Regions from separate parts of the Homo sapiens genome. Here regions 2, 3, 4 and 5 are each linked to region 1. The links are contacts of gene promoters, found by promoter capture Hi-C in blood cells and fetal thymus (Javierre and others, 2016). All regions are on one chromosome and are shown on one strand. Each heading gives the region's core, a stretch centred on a gene start or on the middle of the fragment in contact. The rest is flanking DNA. Distances are from core to core; before and after follow the strand shown.

What was found. Contacts are between HindIII fragments. The CHiCAGO score rates a contact against its expected background, and 5 or more counts as called.
Region 2: a fragment that was not itself captured here is called in contact with the fragment with the promoter of LIG3 in region 1 in 4 of 17 cell types (naive CD8 T cells, activated CD4 T cells, total CD4 T cells and 1 more); the score reaches 7.6 in naive CD8 T cells.
Region 3: a fragment that was not itself captured here is called in contact with the fragment with the promoter of LIG3 in region 1 in 3 of 17 cell types (fetal thymus, total CD8 T cells and naive CD8 T cells); the score reaches 6.4 in fetal thymus.
Region 4: a contact is called between a fragment that was not itself captured here and the fragment with the promoter of LIG3 in region 1, in 1 of 17 cell types (erythroblasts). The highest score is 6.2, in erythroblasts.
Region 5: a fragment that was not itself captured here is called in contact with the fragment with the promoter of LIG3 in region 1 in 1 of 17 cell types (M0 macrophages); the score reaches 6.6 in M0 macrophages.

The regions. Positions count from the first base shown.
Region 1 is chr17:34,978,153-34,982,569 of GRCh38, reverse strand. It overlaps LIG3 (DNA ligase 3), which reads right to left and starts at 2,058. Exons shown (of 20, transcript NM_013975.4): 1 at 1,948-2,058. RefSeq lists a silencer at 1,604-2,033. The HindIII fragment of the contact is 8,847 bases long and covers 1-4,417 here.
Region 2 is chr17:35,610,416-35,614,832 of GRCh38, reverse strand. All of the region lies in intron 5 of AP2B1 (adaptor related protein complex 2 subunit beta 1), which reads right to left. Among named protein-coding and RNA genes, the nearest start is that of AP2B1, 25 kb to the right of the region's middle. The HindIII fragment of the contact is 979 bases long and covers 1,446-2,424 here.
Region 3 is chr17:35,594,788-35,599,204 of GRCh38, reverse strand. It overlaps AP2B1 (adaptor related protein complex 2 subunit beta 1), which reads right to left. Exons shown (of 22, transcript NM_001030006.2): 3 at 870-975. It also overlaps the pseudogene LOC100420062. Among named protein-coding and RNA genes, the nearest start is that of AP2B1, 9.7 kb to the right of the region's middle. The HindIII fragment of the contact is 5,699 bases long and covers 1-4,417 here.
Region 4 is chr17:34,376,333-34,380,749 of GRCh38, reverse strand. No RefSeq gene overlaps it. Among named protein-coding and RNA genes, the nearest start is that of CCL1, 15 kb to the right of the region's middle. The HindIII fragment of the contact is 1,900 bases long and covers 963-2,862 here.
Region 5 is chr17:34,447,759-34,452,175 of GRCh38, reverse strand. No RefSeq gene overlaps it. Among named protein-coding and RNA genes, the nearest start is that of CCL1, 87 kb to the right of the region's middle. The HindIII fragment of the contact is 2,043 bases long and covers 1,236-3,278 here.

The DNA.
Region 1 (4,417 bases), core at 809-3,308:
GTTCAAGCGATTCTCCTGCCTCAGCCTCCCTAGTAGCTGGGATTACAGGCATGCGCCACCACGCCCGGCTAACTTTTTTGTATTTTTAATGGAGACGGGGTTTCTTCTTGTTGGTCAGGCTAGTCTCCAACTCCCGACCTCAGGTGATTCGCCCGCCTCGGCCTCCCAAAGTGCTGGGATTACAGACATGAGCCACCGTGCCTGGCCCTGAAGTTTCGTTTTAATCACCAGTAAAAATTACATTATGTTCATGAAGTTTTTATTGTGAAGTTTAACACATATGCCATCCTCAGAAATCAAGCCACTATATAGATTTGGAATTGAGTTAGAATCCCTATATTGAGAGACAACTAAGCAGAGCCTGGAATCAGACTGCCTGAGTTCAAATCCTAACTCAGCCACTTACCAGCTGTATAACCTTGATGGGTTTCTTACCTCTGTTCCTGAGCTTCCTTATCTGTAAAATGTGGCTAATTATGGGGCCTAACTTAAAGAGCTGTTCTAAGAGTAAAACCCTTAAAACAGTTGGGCACACAGCAAGAGCTCTCATTAACGTCAGCTCCTATTATGATCGGTGACGTCGTTATCTTTCAAGAAGAGGCTTCCGATGTGCAATTAACCTGTTTATCATTCAGCAACTTGAATCAGAGAATGCTGAAGTCACTGGGCAGCAAGACTCACAGGAACTCATAAATCAATCCAAATGGAAAAAGATTATATCAGCATCTTCTTATATTCATGTTTTCTAAAGCATTTTATAGTCCTAGTTTTAAGTATACTGGAATTATGTTCAGTCTGCACACGCTGTGAAGCAAAATTGCTGTCACGTTATAATAAAAAGCAGGCTTTGCTTACTGTAGTGCAACATGATGTGAAGGAAAGCTGGTGGACCTGGAATAAGGGATGGGAGTGCAAGTCTGACTGTACAGTTTACTGACTGTTACCTCGGAGAAAACTCTTAATTTATCTGCATCTGTTTTCTTATTTCTAAAGCAGGGTAAATAATACCTACCTCACAGGGTAGTTGGGAAAATTACAAGGAATCCATGAATGCGCTGGTTGTGGGGGAGGGAGGCTGTTCTGAGCTCTCTAAAAATGTATACAAAATGTACATTCGATAAAAATGCACGGTTTTTTGGAGGAGGTCTATCACTTTCGTGATATTCACAAAGGGCTATATAACTCCCAAAGTTTAAGAACCACAGAGGTGAGGTAAGTGGAAGTACGGCAGACCCATAAAAGGAGGTCAGAACAAGTGAGTTTCAACACTTTTCCTAGAAGATCAATTTACAGAGCAACCTCTAGGGCCCCAATAATGAAAGGAGTGGACTTGAGGGAGGCTCGGGAGGCGCTGGGCCACGAGGAGGCACAATGCAGCTTTGAGGAAACCCGTCTGTCCCTCGTTCCGCACCCTCACAACTGCCGCAGCCCAGGGGCCCGAGAAGGAAATCGCTGAGGCCTGGCCGCCGCCGCTTTTCTCGAAGGGCTTCCCGCGCCGCTGTCGGAGAGTGGCGGGGACAGTGGGGTCGGCGGCGTAGGCCGCGACCCCCGGCGAGGCAGAAAGGAGCGCTCCTCCACCGGGTCCGGGACGCAGGCGGGAAGTGATCAAGGCTCCCTGAGTCCCACCCGAGCGCTCCCGGTTCAGCGCAGGAGGACGCACGCCGGGCCAGGGTACGAGAAGGCCCCGTGGGTTCCACAGGGAACACAGCCCGGGCGCCGGCCTCCCCGCCTCACGCGGCCCCGTGGGGGTCCCGGGGAGCCGCGAGCCTCCCCCTGGGCTCCCGGGAGGGCCGCCACGTCACGGAGGGTGTGCCCCGGGGCTCCGCAGGCGGGCGGGGGAGGAGCCGGGGGGCTGGCTCCCCGGCCGCGCCGAGCTCCTCGCCCCGGGCCCGCTGCCTTCCCCACGCCGGGCCCCGCCGCGCCGTGCCGCGCCGCGTAGCCCCTCACCTGCCTCTCCGGCTCCGGCGCTCACCGTAGGCCTCGGAACTTGCTCATTACAGGCCGCGGGCAGCCCACGACGGTTGGAGCGCCTGTCTCTTTAAATCCGGGTCCTAGAGCGGGAGGCAGCGCGCAGGCGCAAGAGCCAAGGCCGCGGCCACGCGACCGGTCCCCGCCCCCGTCTGCCACGTGGGTCGTAGTTGCATTCTGCCTGCCCTGTGATGTTTGGGAGTAGTTTTCAACCTGCAATCGCGGCCCGGGAAGCGGAGGTGGGGGGACGTGGCGGCTCCTCGGAACGCAGCCTGGCCTGAACTTCCGAGGCTCCCCTTGATTTTCTCATACTGTTAGAGAGGATCTGTTTTTAAAGATATTGGTGGAGAAACTATATTGTAATGAGGTCGGGGAAGGCAAAGATCGCGTCAATCTATTTTTTAAATATAATCCCTCTGTTTGTGTCCCGCAGACTCCCTAGTAAATAGTTTGTATTCAGTAGCTTTCATGGAATTGAGACGAGGCACTAAACAGCAGATAGATATAAAATGTAAAGGAGTGATGGAGGAGAAACTCCTTGATTGTATATCATTCAAAGTGTATTATCTCAAATCTGAAGCCAGCTCTTTGAGAGTTGGGATGGCGATTTTTACAAATGTAGCAGCCTGAGGGTAAGTGACCTCTTCAGAGTCTAGGAAGAGCAAACAACTGGGCCTTGTTAGGTAAGCAAAGAACAGGTTCCCGAGAGAATTCTGTGCTGTGTGATGAAGAGTGTCGTCTTTACTCTGTAGAGGACGGAGAGCCATGAAGAGTCTTAGGGAATACTGCTGAAGCTGGGTGGGGAGAGACTGAGGCAAGGGAACAAATCAGAAGGCTCTCATAGTGACCCATGTGGGAGATGATTCAGCTAGTTAGGGTGGAGAGTAAAGTGCGTTTTTGAAGATCATTTAGAATTTAAATGATCTTCTAGATAAAGTGCTCGTTTATGGATAAAATAATAATAATTTGAGTGAGCAGAAACATAATGGTACCATCAACTGAAATAGAAAATAGAGAGGAAGAGGAGGTGTTAGGGTTAGAAAGATGAGTTTTGTATTGGATACATTAAGTTTGTTTGACTAAGTTTAACTGCGATTCTACTGTTTGGAGGGGAGTAAAGCCTGCTTTTAATGCGCAGCAGAATGAACCAGGGCTTTGGTTCAACCAGGCAATTGGAAGGTCGCTGGAGACTCACGTCCTAGCTATGATAATTGAGTGATCTTGAGCACGTCTCTACAACTACATTTGCTACATTTTTTTAAGTTTCCTCAACCGTATCTGTCTTTTTCCAATGCTGTAATCACTAGCCACACGTGACTATTGAGCACTTGAATGTTGCATGGAATTGAGATGTGCTATAAGTGAAGAAAATACACACCAAAAAATTCATACTAAAAAAAGTAAAATATCTCATTAATAATATGTACCACATAATGACATTTAGGCCAACAATGGACCAAATATATGAGGGTGGTCCCATAAGATTATAATGGAGCTGAAAAATCCCTATCATATAGTGACAGCACATTACTCATGTGTTTGTGGAGATGCTGGTGGAAACGAACCTACTCCATTGCCAGTTGTATAAAAGCATAGCACACACTATTATGTACAGTATATAAAACTTTATAATGATAATAAAGGACGATGTTGCTGGTTTATATATTTAGTATACTATACCTTTTATTGTCATTAAATTAAATTAATTAATTTAGTTATTTTTGAGACAGAGTCTCGCTGTGTCGCCCAGGCTGGAGTGCAGTGCCACGATCTTGGCTCACTGCAACCTCTGCCTCCCAGGTTCAAGTGATTCTCCTGCCTCAGCCTCCCAAGTAGCTGGGATTACAGGCCCTTGCCACCACAATGGGCTAATAATTTTTTTTTTTTTTTTTTGCGACAGAGTTTTGTTCTTGTCGCCCAGGCTGGAGTGCAGTGGCAGGATTTTGGCTCACTGCAACCTCTGCCTCCTAGGTTCAAGCAATTCTCCTCCCTCAGCCTCCTGAGTAGCTGGAATTACAGGCACCCGCCACCACGCCTGGCTAATTTTTGTATTTTTAGTAGAGACGGGGTTTCACGATGTTGGCCAGGCTGGTCTCAAACTCTTGACCTCAAGTGATCCGCCTGCCTCGGCCTCCCAAAGTGCTGAGATGACAGGCATGAAACACTATGCCCAGCCTTATTGTTATTTTAGAGTATACTACTACTTATTGAAAAAAAAAAAGCTAACTGTAAAACAGCATCAGGTAGGTCCTTTAGGAGGTATTCCAGAAGAAGGCATTGTTATCAGAGGAGATGACAGCTCCACGTGTGACATTGCCCCTGAAGGCCTTCCAGTAGGACAAGATGTAGAGGTGGAGGATGGTGATATTGATGATCCTGACCCTCTGTAGGCTTACTAGGCTAATGTGTGTGTTTCTGTCTTGTTAACAAAAAAGTTTTAAAAGTAAAA
Region 2 (4,417 bases), core at 686-3,185, 630 kb before region 1:
TTATTTTTCATAAAATGGTTTTCAAGCAAAAGTTCAAATTAAAAGAAGCTGGAAGTTTAACTACAACTTTTGGTAAAGATTATATTTGGCCTGAATTGAGGCTATTCTGAGAGCATGCTGCTTATGCAGAAGAACACTTAACAAATGAGAAATTTTTTTTTTTTTTTTTTTTTTTTTACTAATTCAACAGTTTGCAATTTTGCAGAGAGGACAGAACAATGAAGCACAGGTATTCTCATGGGCAGCTGTGAGAGTGATAGACAGTCTGGAAGATGAAGATCAAAGGGGCTACGCAGTAAACCAAAGGGACTTACGAGGACTGAACCCAAGAAGACAAAAAGCAGGCCAGGCATGGTGGCTCACGCCTATAATCTCAGTACTTTGAGAGGCTGAGGCTGGAGGCCTGCTTTAAGCTAGGAGATTGAGACCAACCTGGGCAACAAAACAAGATCCATCTCTACAAAAAATAAAATAAAATAAATTAGCTGGGCATGGTAGCATATGCCTGTAGTTCCAGTTGCTCGGGAAGACTGTTTGAGCCCAGGAGTTTGAGGCTGCACTGAGCTATGATCAAGCCATTGCACACCAGCCTGGGTGACAGAGCAAGACCAGGTCTCTCAAAAAATAAAAAGTAAATTTTTAAAATAAATAAAAACAAAAAGCAAAGCACATATGGTGGGGCTGTCAAGAGCATCTCTGGAGTTGCAAATTCTAATATACGTAAGTTAACTGAGGTTTGAATACCCCTAAATGCCTCTGAGAGCAAAAAAGAAAACCATAGTAACGAAGCTAGAGAATACTATCATTCATTCAAAAGTGCATATCTCAATAAAACAAGTCATATACCAAAAAGATACACATTTTCTTGCAAATATATACTTGTGACATTTGTAAAAAAAACCACAAAAGCTATTTCCCTATAGCTCTAAAATGTTTCCTTATTCTGGATGGAGGTTTACCTTCAAAATAATGAACTAATAAAGTCCACATCTGACGACAAGTTTAATTCCCTTGGAACAGATAGTCCATACAAATATTAAAGGAATCAGAACCTTTTAAATTAATATTGTAGCAATAATGTTAACCTCTGCCTAATACCTACTTCATAATTACAGTAGCAGCCACCACTTATGAGCTCCCATAAGCCAAGCACTTTACAGGGCACTTTTCATGCAAAAGCTCAATTAATAATCCAAACAACTCTCTAAGATAGTAGCCTTCATCTTCCAGGAAAGGAAACAGACTTGGGTAAGTTAAACAACATGAACATAAAGCTAGGACTTAATAGAGTGAGATTTTTTTACTTCTAAATTCATCTTTTCTCTCTTAACTAGTATTTCATCAAAAGTTAGCTTCAACTAAACTATAAATTGTAAAACAACTGCAGGAAAGTAAGATGTATGTGATTCTCTGCAAAACACAGGAAACAAAACTATGGTAAAGCTTTGTTACCTGCAGCAAGGCACAGTGTCACTAGGAACCAGACTTGAGGTCAATATAACACCAAGAATTTTCAGCCCTCGACCAACATTTATCTCTCATATTAGAAGATTTCAAAGTCATTTCTGCAGATATTCTAGTGCTTTCAAATCTAGGATGCCCTTCTGAAGTGAGCTACAAGAAAACTACTAAGGCACAACCCCTGGAAGCATTCATTCTTTTCTTTTCTAAGAGAATCTAATATGTGCTGGTGCAGTGCTGCCACCATGTGGAGTAGCCTCTGAAAAAGTGGAACAAAATCACTCCTCAAGAGCAGTAAAATAAGGACTCATATCCATCACTGGAATAAGAGGATTGATATTTCTTTTTTTTTTGTATCTTTCATTTTTTTTTTCTTTTTTGAGATTTCTATAATGAAGCAGTGTTCAGATAACTCAGTCTTTATGTATTCAAACGTAAACACTTTGAGAAAATGAAGCAGTTCTGTGTGTGTGTGTGTGTGTGTGTGTGTGCGCACATACACATTTAAATGACCTCAGGTGATCCACCCTCCTCAGCCTCCCAAACTGCTGGGATGACAGGCGTGAGCCACCACACCTGGCCTAAATTCTCTGGTATACATTCATCCATGAAGGTAGTAACCAGCAATGGAGTCTGGGACTCAGAACTAGGTTGGGATCCTAGCTACATTACTACTAGCTGCATGATTTTAGGAAGAGTTCTTCAGTCTGAGTAAACATTTCTTGACCTGTAACATGGAATAACCTCTGCTTTAAGGAGAAATGTGAGAACTAAGTGAAACATTGTAAGTAAAAGCATCTACCACTGTGCATGGCATAGAAGGCACTTAAATTTAAGTGTTCTAATGACAGTTGTAATACTCTAAGGTAATAAGTAGGGAATACAGTTGAGATGAAAAGTATAAATTCAAAATAAAAAGTAGGTATGTATCTATGTGTGTTGGCTACCTCTTAAGCCCAAGCTTTTCAGTTCTTCACTAAAACAAGAATGAAGAGCTCAAAAAATGATTTTAATATGAGTATGTGTAACAAGGCCAGGACAAGAGTAAGGCAAGTGAGGCACTCCAGGCACAAAACTAAGGAGGCACTCTGTTCTCAGGCTTGTGAGGTACAGAGTTCGCACCTGAGAATGAGTGTCTTCTTAAATTTTACACTCCAGGCACCTCTTTAGGCTAAGTCAAACAATATCAGAAAAGTTCTGCTACTGAGTTCTGACAAAACAGCAAAGATCTTCTATTCAGAGAGCAGTTGGTCCAATAATTTGCTATCTAATGCTGACACCCTGCTCTAGGAAAATCTATAAATAAAGAGACAACAAAATATGAGGTATTCCTGAAACTGTTTCTCAAAAATCTACCAAGTAGCTTTAAATTTTCTCTAAAAGTCTCCTCAAAAATATTTATGAAAATCTCCCCAAGTCACGTTTTGATTTGTTGTAGTAAAAACAGGTTAAAAATTAAGAACACTATACAGTTTACTATAATATTATGATATACTAAATTCAAATAGAGACCTATTCATGTGCTGCCTGCTTAAATTTTATATAGCTAGGGGATGGGGAAAGAAAATAAGTAAAACAAGATTGGCATGTATTGATGACTAGTGAATCTAGTGATGATAAATGAATTCATTTTATTTATTGTATTCATTTATTTGTCCTAATTTTGAATGTTTGAAGATTCCCACAATAAAAAACACAAATACATAAATAGCATACGTATGCCACCTGATTTTATGGACTAGATGAAAACTAGCTCTCTCCTTTGCAATGTAAACTTTGAATAAATCGGACAAACTAAGCTTGTTCCAGAATCATTTTATTCTTCTCGGTTTATCTGGATAAAGATCTCTAAATGTGCTACTTGAGTGTGTGTGCGCACGTGCGCGCGCGCACACACACACACACACGACTTTACTGCTAAACATCCCTTAGGCCTTATCCCTGACCATCTAACTGTATAGGTTCTGCATTAAAGAATTTACATTAGCATAGAGATGCTGCCTCAAACTGGAGTCGCCTGTAAGTTAGAACTCATTTTCCCTTTGAGCCATTCCATATTCTTAGCACCACTGAATATTTAATAAGTTTCCACGGGGTACATGATATTCTGCCCACCTGGTTGACGGTTGCAGCACAAACACTTTTCATCTCATCTGTCCTCAGGTAGAGAATTATAGATAGTTGCTCAGAATAACAGTGAATCAAAAGCAATGCCAAAAACACAAGTTGGTGCCAGCTAAACATTCTGTAAAGTAGATACTACTAACTTTAGACAATATTTATTTTTCTATATTTTTGAGGAAGGGTCTGTCTTTGTCACTCAGGCTATAATGCAGTGGTGCAATCATAGCTCACTACAGCCTTAAACTCCTGGGCTCAAGGGATTCTCCCACCTCGGCCTCCCAAGTACCTGGAATTACAGGCATGCACCACCACGTCCAACAAAATTTTTTTTTTTTTTTTTGAGACAAGAGTCTCGCTCCGTCACCCAGGCTGGAATGCAGTGGCACGACCTCGGCTCACTGCAAGCTCCGCCTCCTGGGTTCACACCATTCTCCTGCCTCGGCCTCCTGAGTAGCTGGGACGATAGGCGCCTGCCACCACGCCCGGCTAATTTTTTGTATTTTTAGTAGAGACGGGGATTCACCGCGTTAGCCAGGATGGTCCTGATTTCCTGACTTCGTGATCCACCCACCTCGGCCTCCCAAAGTGCTGGGATTACAGGCATGAGCCACTGCACCCGGCCCCACCGAATTTTTTAAAAAAATTTTTGTAGAGACAGGGTCTCAGTTTGTTGCCCAGGCTGGTCTCAAACTCTTGGCTTCAAGTGATCCTTCTGCCTCAGCCTCCCAAAGTGCTAGGATTATAGGCATATGAGCCAACATGCCTAGCCAACTAATTTCTTTATGTAATTTTTAAAAAGGGGGCTGGGTGTGATGGCTCATGCCTGTAATCC
Region 3 (4,417 bases), core at 1,379-3,878, 620 kb before region 1:
TCTCAAGTCGACCATTGCACTGCTACGCAGCAGAAGAGATTTATGGGTAATCCCTATTTCATCAAACACAATATTAAAAAGGTTCAAGTTTTAATAAAACAAATTTTTACTGCTCATGAAGGACATTCCTAAGTGAAACTGCTCTTTTTTAGCACATGGTGTTAAGGAATACAATGACTACCATTATGGTTGGCACCACTGCCTTCATTCATGCTGAGGCACCAGCAGTTTTACCCACCACTGCTTTGCACCATCACTGTAAACATCCAAATAGTGAAAAAGGCAAGTAACATCTAAGTATTATTATGAAAACAGCTTTGACCTCACGGACCCCCCGAAAGGGTCTTAGGATAATCCTTAGGGGCCTGCATATAGTCCTTACTTATTTCCAAATGGTCTTAATTACAGAAATAAAAAATAAGACTACATGGATTTGGTTAACATTGATTTTCATCTTGAATCCAGCAATTGAATGTACAGTTGTAAAGTTGAGGGCAGTGGCTTGAGCCAGTTAAAGATCATGTGAACTTATGCTTCTCAGTGTATTTTTATCATCTTCTAAAACGACCTCAGCAAAAAGATTTGTAACTGTGCCAGCTCTCAGGAGGTGTTATGCTAGATCTGAATGCAATGAAATCAAACTCGTTTCACTGTTCTAACACAAACACACACACACCCCATAACAAACAAACAAACAAAAAGTAGAGCATTAATACAAAGGCAACTGCACTTCCTAATGATGTTTTTAGTGGGACAAACCCATTCTTAGAGGTTCTATGATTATGATACTTTTAAAGGAAAAGCAGTAAAGGCCATAAGATGGGGTATGGACCTCTGAAGTGATCAATGGCAAGGGTGATTACTCTTACCTAACATCCTTCCCCACGGTCATAGCAGCAATCACTTTCTTCACAGCCTCCTTTCTCTTTTCTTTCTTTTCATTGTTGAGTTCAGCTTTTAGTTCAAATATTTCTCCTGCAAGAGATGAGAGCAAACTGGTAAGGTTCCAGTACCACAGACTTAGAGCAGAATACTACACTATGTAATAACCAATACCAGGATAGCAGGGCAGCAACTAAAATAAGATTTTAAAATTATAGAATATATAAAATTCAAAGCCCTAGAATATTACCTGACTCACTGACAAGGAAGCCATCAGTAAGTTTTAAAAATCTTTTAAATTATGGCCAGAGAGGAAGGTGCAATCCAGATCTTCAAGAACCACAAGAGTGGGAAAAACCAAATCTCATTATATCTAGCTACAATGGGGAGAGAACAGTATATGAAGGATGATCTTCCATCAGAATGTTAAAGTCTGGAGGAGAACATAAACGTAGGTAGGGAGCAGGCGCGTATTACCTCATTTACCCACGCTCGGCTTTACAGATTAAGAAATGAGGCTCAAAGTTCACAGAGTCAGTGACAAAGTTGGGCTTAGCACTGTGTCTCCTGACTCTTGAATGCAAAGGTTCTCAGCCCTGGCCACACACTAATATTACCTGAGAAATACTAAATATAGCAAAGTACAGGCTCCACTCTGGGCCAAATAAATCATAATGTCAAAGAGAACTCATATTTATACCTTTAAGAGCTCCACCAAGTGACTCTAACGCACACCCAATGTTGAGAATCACTACTTTAATCAGTACTTTAATAAATCAGTGGGCTTTAAGGCCCTTGCTATTCAATCAAACAAGAATAATCTTGAAACCAAGAATGGTACACAATGGAGTCATTTCCAAAGGTACAATCTTGAATGACTGCTTAGGCTCCGCACTGTAAACTGTCAGGGACTGTAACCACTATTTTAAGGCCTGGTCTCCAGGCTCACCTATCTGCAAGAAGCCGGAACCAAAATAAAAAAGAAAGTAACAACCCTAATATTGTTTAAAAGAAACGGAAAAAAAACACTAAGTCCATGAAAAAGAGGTTGACTACTCCCATCTCAACTTTCCATCTACATCCTCCAGCTCATCTACCATACTGCCTCAAAAGACTTTCCTCCACCTTCAAGACTGTTCCTGTCGTTCCTTTCAACCAGATCTCATTTACCAGCATAGAAACAGTGGGGACAGTCTCCGCTTCCGGAGGTCGCTACTGCTGCCTCAGTGGCCCCGGAGCGGGGGCGCCCAGGGGTCCTTCGCCCCCGGCCACGGCCCCCACAACGGGGCTTCGCCGCCACCTGTGTCCGAGCTGGACCGTGCAGGCGCCAGGCTCCTCTCCGAAAGGCGCACGAGACAGCTTTCTTCTCCTGGTTCCACAATGGCCTCCTGGCATAGGGCATCGGGGTTATCTCCTTCATGCAGAGTGACATGGATCACGAAGCAGCATATGGCTTCTTCCTGCTGGGCGGCCTGTGTGCGGTGTGGGGCAGCGCCTGCGGGGCCTGGCAGCGCTGCGGGGGCCCATGCAGCTGACGCTAGGGGGCGCAGCTGCGGGCGCTGTACTCGCCACCAGCCCGCTCTGGGTGTGCGCCGCCGTGGGCTTCTACACCGGGCAGCTGGAGCTGGACGTGAAGCTGGTGCTCGAGGGCGACGGGGCGGCCTCCGCGGAAGGCCCTGATGAGGCAGGCTGGCCGCCACCCGAGTGAGCGACATGGCCGCCGGGCCTGGCAGGCGCGGGATGACGGCGCCCGAGGACTGGGACATTAAAACCTGACCTCCCCTCCTCCAAAAAAAAAAAAAAGAAAGAAATAGTGGGGACAAACACTACGTGATTTGCCTGAAACCATTATGTGGAAAGGATGAAATTAGTAAGACACAGAAGTAGAGCACTTTTTCGTTTCAATATCCATGGCCAATAAGGCAAAAAAATTGTTCCAAAATTTCTATTTAATCAACAGCTACAAAAGTAGCATAGCAAGAAAAGCTGGGCCCTTTAAAGAGTCATTCTTCATAGGACTCTTCACCATGTCCCATCCTGCCAAATCCAGCTCTTAGAGTTCCTCTCATTCACTTCCGGGAACAGTGAAGGACAAACGGCGGGGTTTCAGAAAGTCTGAATTGTGAACAGCAGCAGGTGTTATAGAATCAAAGCAGGATGTAACAGAAATTATTCCAATTCCAAAAGCATAAATTTAAAGAATATGTTTCAGTGGCAGTTCTGGTGGGTGTTGCAGGAAGTACAGGGAACACAATCTATCAATTTTTTTTAAGTATGATGTTTATTAGCAGTGATTCAATCTGCAGTCTCAAACTTTTACAAATGCCTGAATTAAAAAAAGGTCACCAGGACACTTTTCAAGAGTAGGTTTGAAGAATTAGGAGAGTTTTAAAATTATAACTATTTAATTGTAATTGTATCCCTTTATATAATTATAGACATTTTGTTCGTCAAAGCACACAAAATGCTAACAGAAGAAGAAATAAACATATTTCCAAAAGAAAATCAGAAAAAGCTGAGACTGAATGACAAGTGGCTAATGGCTTTTGTGAGGTGTAAGTAATAAAAATAAGGAGGAAAAAGTTGGGCAGGACCAAAGAGGGGTACTAAAAGAGGCAAAGTCATATATTCTACAACTTTATTAAATTCCTATATTTTCTCCCTCCTCCTCCCCCCAATCAAATCTACCAAGCACTGTTAGCAGCTAGCAGTAGTTCTCAATCATGGCTGCACATTAAAATAATCTGGGGAGCTTTCTTTTTAATTTTTTTCTTTTGAGACAGGGTCTCTCTCTGTTGCCTAGGCTGGGGTACAGCGGCACAATCACGACTCACTGCAGCCTCAACCTCCTGCACTCAAGTGATCCTCCCACCTCAGCCTCCCAAATAGCTGGGACTACAGGTGTGCACCACCGTACAGGGCTAATTTTTAAATTTTTTTTCATAGAGATAGGGTCTTACCATGTTGCCCAGGCTGGTCTCAAACTCCTGCACTCAAACAATCCTCCTGTCTCAGCCTCCCAATGTGCTGGGATTACAGGCATAAGCCACCATGCCTGGCCACCTGGAGAACCTTTAAAATCCTCACACCCAGACCATATCCAGGACAACTGAAATCAGGCTGAGGTTGAGACCCAGGCATCAGTATTATTTCAAAGTTCCCTGGCTGAGCAATTCTGATGTGTTGCCAAGACTGAAAGCTACAGACAACAAACTGACATAATTAAGCAACTCACTGCAACAAGAGAAAAAGAAGAATGGTAGTTGGCGCCATGTCTGGAATACTTTGGTAAATGTAAGGACTCCTGAACACAAAAGCACAGAATTCTGATCCTAAGCAACAAATAAAGCAAGCTAAGCTACAGGCACAATAAGCTGAGATGGGCTAAAATGTTTGTCTTTGATGGGAAGACCCTCCACATTTCTAGAAATGATCTATTTTATTTAGGAACAATTTTACAAAAGATGAAGGGTTGGACTTTCCCCAGAAGAATCCTTTGTTCCTAGACCCAAACTCATAGGTAAAAACAAGCATT
Region 4 (4,417 bases), core at 663-3,162, 600 kb after region 1:
AAGTCGCTAAGCTCTGAACTTTGCTCCCTAAACTTGAAGTGGTCCTTTATTCACAAAGGGGGAATTACTTGAAAATGTCAGATGAGACATCTATAATTTGTTGCTTTAAATAAAATAGAAGCAAAATGCTAAAAAGGTTACCTTGAATTTTAATACCTGTGAAAGGTCCATGTTTCAGCTTTCTTCCAATAGCCAAACCATATTCTACCTTGTGCCTTATAGCCAAGCAAGGCTAAAAGCTCCCTGTTTTAAGTGTTTGCTGTTTATTTTATTTTGGGACAAGAGGGAAAAGGGGCAAAGTGTGAAGGTGAGGAAAAGGTTACCACCTCACAAATATTTTCATTTATCTTGAATGTTAATATCTAGTGCAGTGCCATTGACAACAGTAACTTTACGTAAGAGGAAACATCAAACTCTCCCTTGGGTGGGCCCAAAAAAAGTGATGTATCCTGGACCACATTTGTGCTTTTTATGTATTCCCAGACGTATGGTAGGGCACCTACATTGATAATTGGTCTTTGTTCCAAATTGCGTAAACATTGGGGAAAAAAAAAACAAACTTACATTTGTTGCCTTTCGGTGTATGCCAAAGAAAAGTGAGAATGTTCACGAAATTCTCTTTGGCATAATCTTAGTTAAACTGACAACATGCATAACTTGCCTGCAGAACATGAGGCAAGTACAGTCATTCTTTCATTCACAGGAATTTTGTGGTTTTCTGACATGTGTCTCCACTGTAGATATTACTACTACTCTGCAGTTGGAAACTTATCTTTTTCTAACTAATTAACTAAGTAAGGCCTGGAGAAAAATGAATTTACATGTTTCATTAATTACATAAGGGTCCATTTTACAGCCTTAATAGCCAGGCGGAGTAAGTGGACCAAATTATGGAGAATGGGTACATTTTGTAAAAATACTTAAAAGTACCATTGCGGAGAGAGTGACAGTTTCAAAAAGCTTGTTTTTAATGTTGACAAAAATCATGATCAGAATTTGCTTCCATTTACTATAATTCAGGGGTCAAAAACTGAAAAGCTGAAATACCTTCAGAGTCCCAGGAGGAGCTGACTATGACTAGAAAACGCATGGCATCTAAAGGGGACAGGCAGGGTGTTAATTTGCTCCAGGTGATAGGCAGCAAGCAGGAGTTACATTGTGTCATCTACTTTTCTAATTGATCAAGGAAGGCCGGAGATTTTATGAGATTTGATGTTTGAATTTTGAAGATTAAACGCTTTCAATAAAATATGTGCTCCAACAATATATGGTGGGCTGAGGCTTAGACTACTGGTTTGCATCTTCTAATGTAATTGAATTACTTTCGCCCCTTCCTAACTTATTTGAAGTTTGGTTTTAAGCAAATGCATTTGTGGTTTTGATGAACATCATATGGCCAATAACTTTTTAAAAGCATCTGTGAAACAATTCTAACTGGTTTGAATTTGGAAAAAAAAATCAAAAAAGGTGGCTTAATTTCACAGGTTTCTTTAAAGGGCATCTGCCAAGTAGAAGACTGGCAAGAAAAAATTGGTTCCTAAGGAAGAAGTACAGGTAGTAGGTTGCGTAGTTTGAGGACAGGGATTTTATCCACAAGGAGGTAATTATATGACCTGCTGCTACCTTTCTTAGGGCCTTCTGATTATATAGTAACCTGTTTCCTTGCTACTTTGCTTTGGTTCAAGCAGTTTCTTCTGCAGGTTTTCTCATAAATGAAAACACTGCAAGAATACCAAAGACAGCAATGTTTGTGTTAGTGATTTAAAACATCTGCATGGGGCCAACATCGATTACTGAAAGTCAACTAATGAGAATTAGAGACTTCTGAAGTATACCTGTTTGCTTACGGGTCTCACTTTGAGGTGGCTGGAAGGTTTCGAAAGAATAGTTTTTCTTGTTTTTTTTTTTTTCTGTTTCGTTTTTGCTCAAGTTCCTCTTTCTGAGATCTGGAGACTGTCCGCGGTTCCCTGCTCACTGTTGTCCCTGGAGTCTGCCTGAAAGAAAGCATTTTTTAAAACTGTTGAAATATTTTGCAGTTTTCTACACTGTATTTGTAAATATTTATCTTTTGCTAAGTTTCTGTTTCTTTATCTTCTGGACTTAAAATTTGCGGCAGTTCTTAGGGTAGCATTGCATGTTGTAGAAATTGATAATTGCATTGAGTTACTCATTATAGTATGTAACTCTGGGGTGGAGTTTGTTTAATGTGTACAGGGACTAGAAGGTCAATAAAAATGAAAATGGTTGTCTGGATAGTGGAGCTACTACAATTTGTTAAACCTATACATCTTTTCAATAAAAATATTAACATACTTTTTAAGGAGACAACTTAAAAACAAGTTACAAATGGGAGATTATGTTGCAATACACATACCAAAAGGATTAATATAAGAACATATCAAGAGCTCCTTCAAATCTGCAGGAGGCTCTATTCTCATTTAAAAGGGTTTAGAATGTATTTCTTCACACCGTTGACTTTGAGGTTGGCCATGTACCTCCCTTGAGCCAATAGACTGTTAGCAGATATGGGCCAGGCACGGTGGCTCAGGCCTGTAATCCCAGCACTTTGGGAGGCCGAGGCGGGCGGATCATGAGGTCAGGAGATCGAGACCATCCTGGCTAACACGGTGAAAACCTGTCTCTACTAAAAATACAAAAAATTAGCCGGGTGTTGTGGCGGGTGCCTGTAGTCCCAGTTACTCAGGAGGCTGAGGCAGGAGAATGGTGTGAACCCGGGAGGTGGAGCTTGCAGTGAGCTGAGATCGCGCCACTGCACTCCAGCCTGGGTGACACAGTGAGACTGTCTCAGAAAAAAAAAAAAGAATGTTAGCAGATATGACATGCCAGATCCCAGCAGAAGCTTTGAAAGCATTGCAAGTTTCTGATAATCCTCTTTCTCTTGGACCCTCTGCCAGTAGAATGTCCTGTCCTGAGCAAGAGCTGTTCCTTTAGCTGGACCCTGGAATTGGGAAGACTTGTGACAAAGACTGACATGACCCACAGCTTAATGAAGGGCTGCAGTTGGCCCGCAGACTTAAGAGCAAAAAAGAGAAATGTTTCTTGTTATCAGCCACAGATATTTTGGGGTTGCTTGTTGCTGCAGCAAAAGCTGGCCGATACAGAAATTAATACCTAGAAGAGAGAAATTGCTCTAACCAAAGGATAAGATGTACAGATTTGGCTTTGCAGCTGGGTGGCAGACAGCAGAGAAATTATTATAGGGGCTAGAGAAATGGCAACCTATGGAATGCTGTAGTGAAACATTTGGTAAAACTGTCACATATGATAACTCGGAGGGCAGAAAATAAACCTACTGAATTTATAGCTTTGGGAGAAGAGGTTTTGAGACAGAATTGGTTAGTGTGAGTTAGCTTTTACTAGCTACATTTCATGAGGTACTACAAGAAAGAAATGATGTCAGCAAAGGGCAGGCTCATTTGCAAGTGGAACTGAAAGGGAATATAGAAAGTCTAGAAATGCTAGGGCTAAGAGTGTTGAAAGATGCAATAATCTCTCACTTCCAACCTCTGTGGTTAAAAAAATTCTCAAAATAATACATAGCTTTAAGGCACAAAACAAAACAAAGGCATGGCTATGAACACTTAGCCTGGAGACCAAGACCAAATCCAGGGCACAACTGTCACTGCCTTTGTTAAGACTTCTGATAAGAATACGGCACTCCCAGGGAATCCTGTCCATTAGACAGAATGTCTCATGGAAAGGTCTCCTAAAGCCTGATGATGTCAGAGTACTTGAAACTACATATAGAGGGAGAGCAAGACATGTCTCAAAATGAATTGTGGATTTGGCTACTGACATTTCGAAAAGGGTTTTCGAGAGAGTTACATTGCTGAAAGTGCTGCCAGCCTAGGTTAAATAAGACTGATTTTTAAGGACATGAAAGGATCTTGAGCGATAGTATTCTACAGGCAGGAAGCAGGCCAAAGAGGTTGATGAGAAAAATACAAACACCCAAAAGAAAAATGGGAAAAACTAGGAATAGATATTTCACAGAGGAGGGGACACTTAGAGCTGATAGATATAACTTTCTCATGACAGTGAATATTCTGACCCAGAAATTCTGCTTTTCATATATACCTAATGGAAGTCTTGCATATATAAGAATGTTCGTGTGTCAGAATGTTCAGAACTGTTTACAATGACAAAATTCTGGAAAAGACTCAAATGCCCATCAAAAGAGAGTGACTATATAAACAATAGAATGTTTATCCAATGGAATATAATATGGCATTTAAAACAAATGAACTGCAGCGATAATGATACATGATAATGATAATGTCCTAGATATTAACAAAATACTATTCAACAAATAAGTCCCTATAAACAGTGTGATAAATAAACAGTATGATACCCTTTTTATAAAGTAAAAATAACTAAGGTAAAAAATATATATATA
Region 5 (4,417 bases), core at 1,008-3,507, 530 kb after region 1:
TATAGCAATATACAGAATCTAAACACTTTATACTATTTACTTTATCCAGTATGTAATTCAAAATTACTAGCCATAGGAAGAAATAGGAAAACTTTACCCATAGAAAACATTTGAGACTGGCCCTAAAATGACCCAGATTTTGGAATTAGCAGACAAATATTTTAAAGCTGCTCTTATAACTATGCTCAAGGATATAAAGAAAAGTATGTCTACAATGAATGTAAAGACTGAACTACCAATGTTAGCAAAAAAAAAAAAAAAAAAAAAAAAAAGAAGAAGAAGAAGAAATGAAAAGAAACCACAGAAGAGAACCAAATGCAAATTTTAGACTTGGAAATATAACATCTGAAATAAAGAAATATTATAAGCATGATTTACAAATAAAATAAATTCAGGTTCATAAAGATTGAGTAATTTTCCTAAAGTCGAGCTGACAAGCAATACAGCAGGAATTTGAATTTCAAGTCTATCTAGCTTTAAAACCTATACTTTTTCAACCTCATTATATGGAATTTAGAGCTTAGCAGAAGTCTGTGGGAAAGTGAAAATAGGATATGAGCATTTCTGAAATTCAACTAAGATGAGTTTGTCTCACTAAAATACCTTGCTGTTAAGTCTGCTGTGGCTCCTTGAGAACAGCCAACAGGATGATCTACCCATGGTGCTGAAATTTGTCCTCTATCCAAAACTTCAGTGTCTACTGATTATTTGCACCAAGGAGTGGAGAGAGAAGTGATTATAAACCACAACATAGAGCTCAGGCTCTGGAACCAATTCATTTTGGCTATCAAGGCTACTGCAATGCATTTCTCCATCCATCGCTGTCCGTGGGTTTTGCCCATGTTTGGCATAGATCTTTTCCATGTTTTGCAAAAATATTATCCTTGGGGTAGAGACAGAGAGTGGGGGTCTTCATGCATTTACATCACCTTCTTATGGCTGAGATCTAGTTAAATTGAATGTATATTCTGTGAGTTTGATAATGTGCCCAGTGTTGTGCATGGTATTGTGGAAGGCAGAGAAAGATGATACCTGCTTTTCAGAAGTGCCCACCTGAAAATAAGCAGAGAAGGAGCAGGAACAAGGCTAGCAGGGTGGGCTCATGGTCTACTGTGTGTTCTTGGCAAGACCTACCTTGAGGCTTAAGGGTTGGGAGAATGTCACTATAGGTTGGGGGCAAGCAAAAATGCTTTGTAGAAGAGGTGGGATGTCACCTGTTCTGTAAAGGCTAAGCTTAGGAGAGGAAGGGAGAAGACCATTCCAGGACACAGTTGGTGCTTGACAAATATTTATTAAATGGAAGCATGAATATACAATTATTTTCTTCCTGGATATTTTAAAGTATCTGTCTTTTTAAGTGATTGTTTAAAATATTAAAAACAGACTATTTTAACACTATCTGTAATAGCACCAAACTGGAAACTACCCAAATGTCCATCAATAGTAGAATGGATAAGCAAATCATAATATAATTATACAATAGAATAATATCTAGCAATTAGAATGGCCACTCTACAATGACACACAACCTTATGGAAGCATGATGTTGTACAAAAGGAGGTATACACAAAGGAGGAGCAGTTATAAGATTTTGTTTCTATGAAGTGCAAAAAGAGACAGAGCTAATCTATGGTGCTTGAGATCAGTATGGTGGATTTAGGCAGTAGTGATGGGAAGGGAGTCCAAGGGCAGCTTCGGGAAGGCTCTATTTCTTGATCTACATATTATGTACACATTGGTTCAGTTTTTGAAAAATGTATGGGCTGTGCACTTATGATAAGTTCATTTTTCTGTATGTTGTATTTCAATAAAAAGTAAACCAACAAACAAAAACAGGCTATGTTCTCAGCTTGACTTCCTAGACCCCATGTTCTCTTGCCTTCTCTCATCGATACCAGATGGCATGACCTGTGAAGATATTTTTTAAAGAATGGCAGGCTTTGCTCAAGGAGTAGCCTCTCCTAAGACCAGAAGAGAAAAGGCAGATAATCTTTTCCCCCATTTTAATGATTGGGAAACTGAGGCTTGTAGATATGAAATAAAGCCCTTTTTTCATATAGTGAGTCACTGTAAGAAAGAACTTTTGTCTTCTGGGAGCCTCCATCCTGTGGCCCAGCTAATAGGTACCTGTTCAGCCAGATGCACCTCAAGAGACAAAGACTGTTACAGGAAGTCAGAGTGATGGGTGGGAATACCTGGAGGTGTTCAGTGGGCTTTGCTATCCCCCACTTTCATGGTCATGTCCACATAAAGTAGCACCTGGAGGGTTCTCAGCCTGCCATCTGCTTTTGTGAGATTTGAGTGAGTCAGTTATTGTCCCTGGACCTGTGGCCCCAACTATAAAATTAGGGATTGAACTCAATAACAATAAGGCATAAGTTTCCTCCCAGTTCTAATATTTCAGGTATAAATCTGAACCAGTGCCATCCATATTAGATTAGGCAGAGTCTCTGCTATTCTGTACCCTTAGAGGGCTGTGCGGGGTCAGGATTAAAGAAATAAATCTGAAATCTGTATGATATTTTAAAGCATTTCTTCATTCATTTGTTCACTCATTCACTCCAGAACCCTTCATTGAGCATCTGCTGTATGCTAGGTCCTTAAATAACTTACATTCTGGGGAGACAGACACAGTAATTAGTTGTAAAAGTGTATCAGTGTCATACATACAGTTACATATCAAATGCTGTGGACATACAGAAGACTTTATTGGTGCTTTGGGGGTGAGGTTAGGCCACAGAAGGCTTCCTAGAGGAGGCGATATTTGAGCTGGATCTGGAGGAAGGAAGAGATCAGACTGGGTAAATTGAGGTAGGAGTCAGTCACATCCTTGTTAGAGAGAAGAACGTATCTAGAGGCAGAGGAGCTGGAAAGGCATTTCTGTGGGTTCAAACCTGAACACGGAGAGTGAGTGGCAACAGCTGAGGCTGAAGCCTTGAACACCATGATTTTGTGTAGGGTGTAGGATTTGGCAGTGGGGGCCACATTCAGGATGAGTGTGAGACTAGAGTGAGGTGCAGGACCTGTGAGGGACCCTTCTCCTCGCTTTTCTACCACAGTTCGGTGAGACTTGGGTGCACATCCCCCGCCCTCTTAGATTGTCCAGTCAATAAGCTCTATAAGGAGCCAAAGCTAAAAAGCAAGATCAATGTAGTTGCCATCGATCCTGCCTCAGCGGCTGATTAGTACCAGGGACTTGGCTGATCCTGAGAGCTCATTGCTAATGCACCATGAAACTCAGATTAAACTAGTAGCGCCCAGCAGCCCTGGGGAAAGCTTCTGCCCTCTCCAGATGCATGGGGGTAGTGGAAGAGGTCCTGACCCCAACTTGCTGGAGCCTTTTGCTACCCAGATGAACAACGTAAGTCCCCTAAGCAACCAGCAGACATCTGATCATGGCATTTCTTTGCTTAACTCCTCTCCATGTACCCCATTGCCTCTGGGGTCTGTGCAAACTCCCTAATTGGGCAAACCTGCCCTCTGCAATCTGGCCCCTGACTGCCTCTTCCAGCCTCAAACATGTTGCCTTCCCCTTACCTTCTGAGTCAGTCCAGCAGAACTGCCTTCAGGGCCTCCAACTTTGCCATCACATTGCATGGAGTCACTTGTCATTTCTTCCAGTAGCCTTCCCTAACCCTCCTTCCACCACCACCACTAAAATCTGACTTAGGCACCTTTCCAAGGTCTCCCTGTACTTTCCTGAGCAGACCAAGGATAAGAAAATACTGTAATTGCTTACTTTCTTGTCTCATCCTGCATTCAGAATCACCTTGGAGCTTTGAAAAATATATAGATTCAGATTCGTTGGCCTGGAATGGGGCTTGGGTACTGATGCTTTTGCCACTTCCCTCCAGGGATCCTAAGGTGCAATCGTAGCTGAGAATCACTAGACCAGAGTCTGAGCACTAAGGAGTCAGGGACCAGGTTGATCACTTAGCCTCTCTGTCCCTGGCACCTAGCACAGTGCCCTGGCACATAGTATGTGCCCAGTGAATATTTGTGGAATTGTACTGTCCTGGAGGGAACATAAGGCCTAGGCTGAGCACTCTCACCAGCTAGAATGTTCCTCTGTTGGACAGTACAAAGAGCCGGGTTGGCTCTCAGTGAATAGCTTAGGTCATTGAGGAAGCTCTTCCATAACACATCATATCACATTTAACTCCCAGCTGGTCTGTGAGGCAGGAAGATGAGTAATAAAATGTCCTTTTGTCAAGGGGGACCCTGAAACCCAGAGAAGGTAAGTGGCCATGCCTGAGTATCACAGCAAGAATGAACAGAGCCAAGATTCCTCCCTGTCATCTCTCCACAATTTCTTTCCTTAAGTCTTGTTACCAAGCGCTTCCTTAGACTGAATCAAAGTCTCCTCTGAGGCCAATCGTTCTGCAGTCATTGGCCCTCACCCCTTTCCCTGTCTATT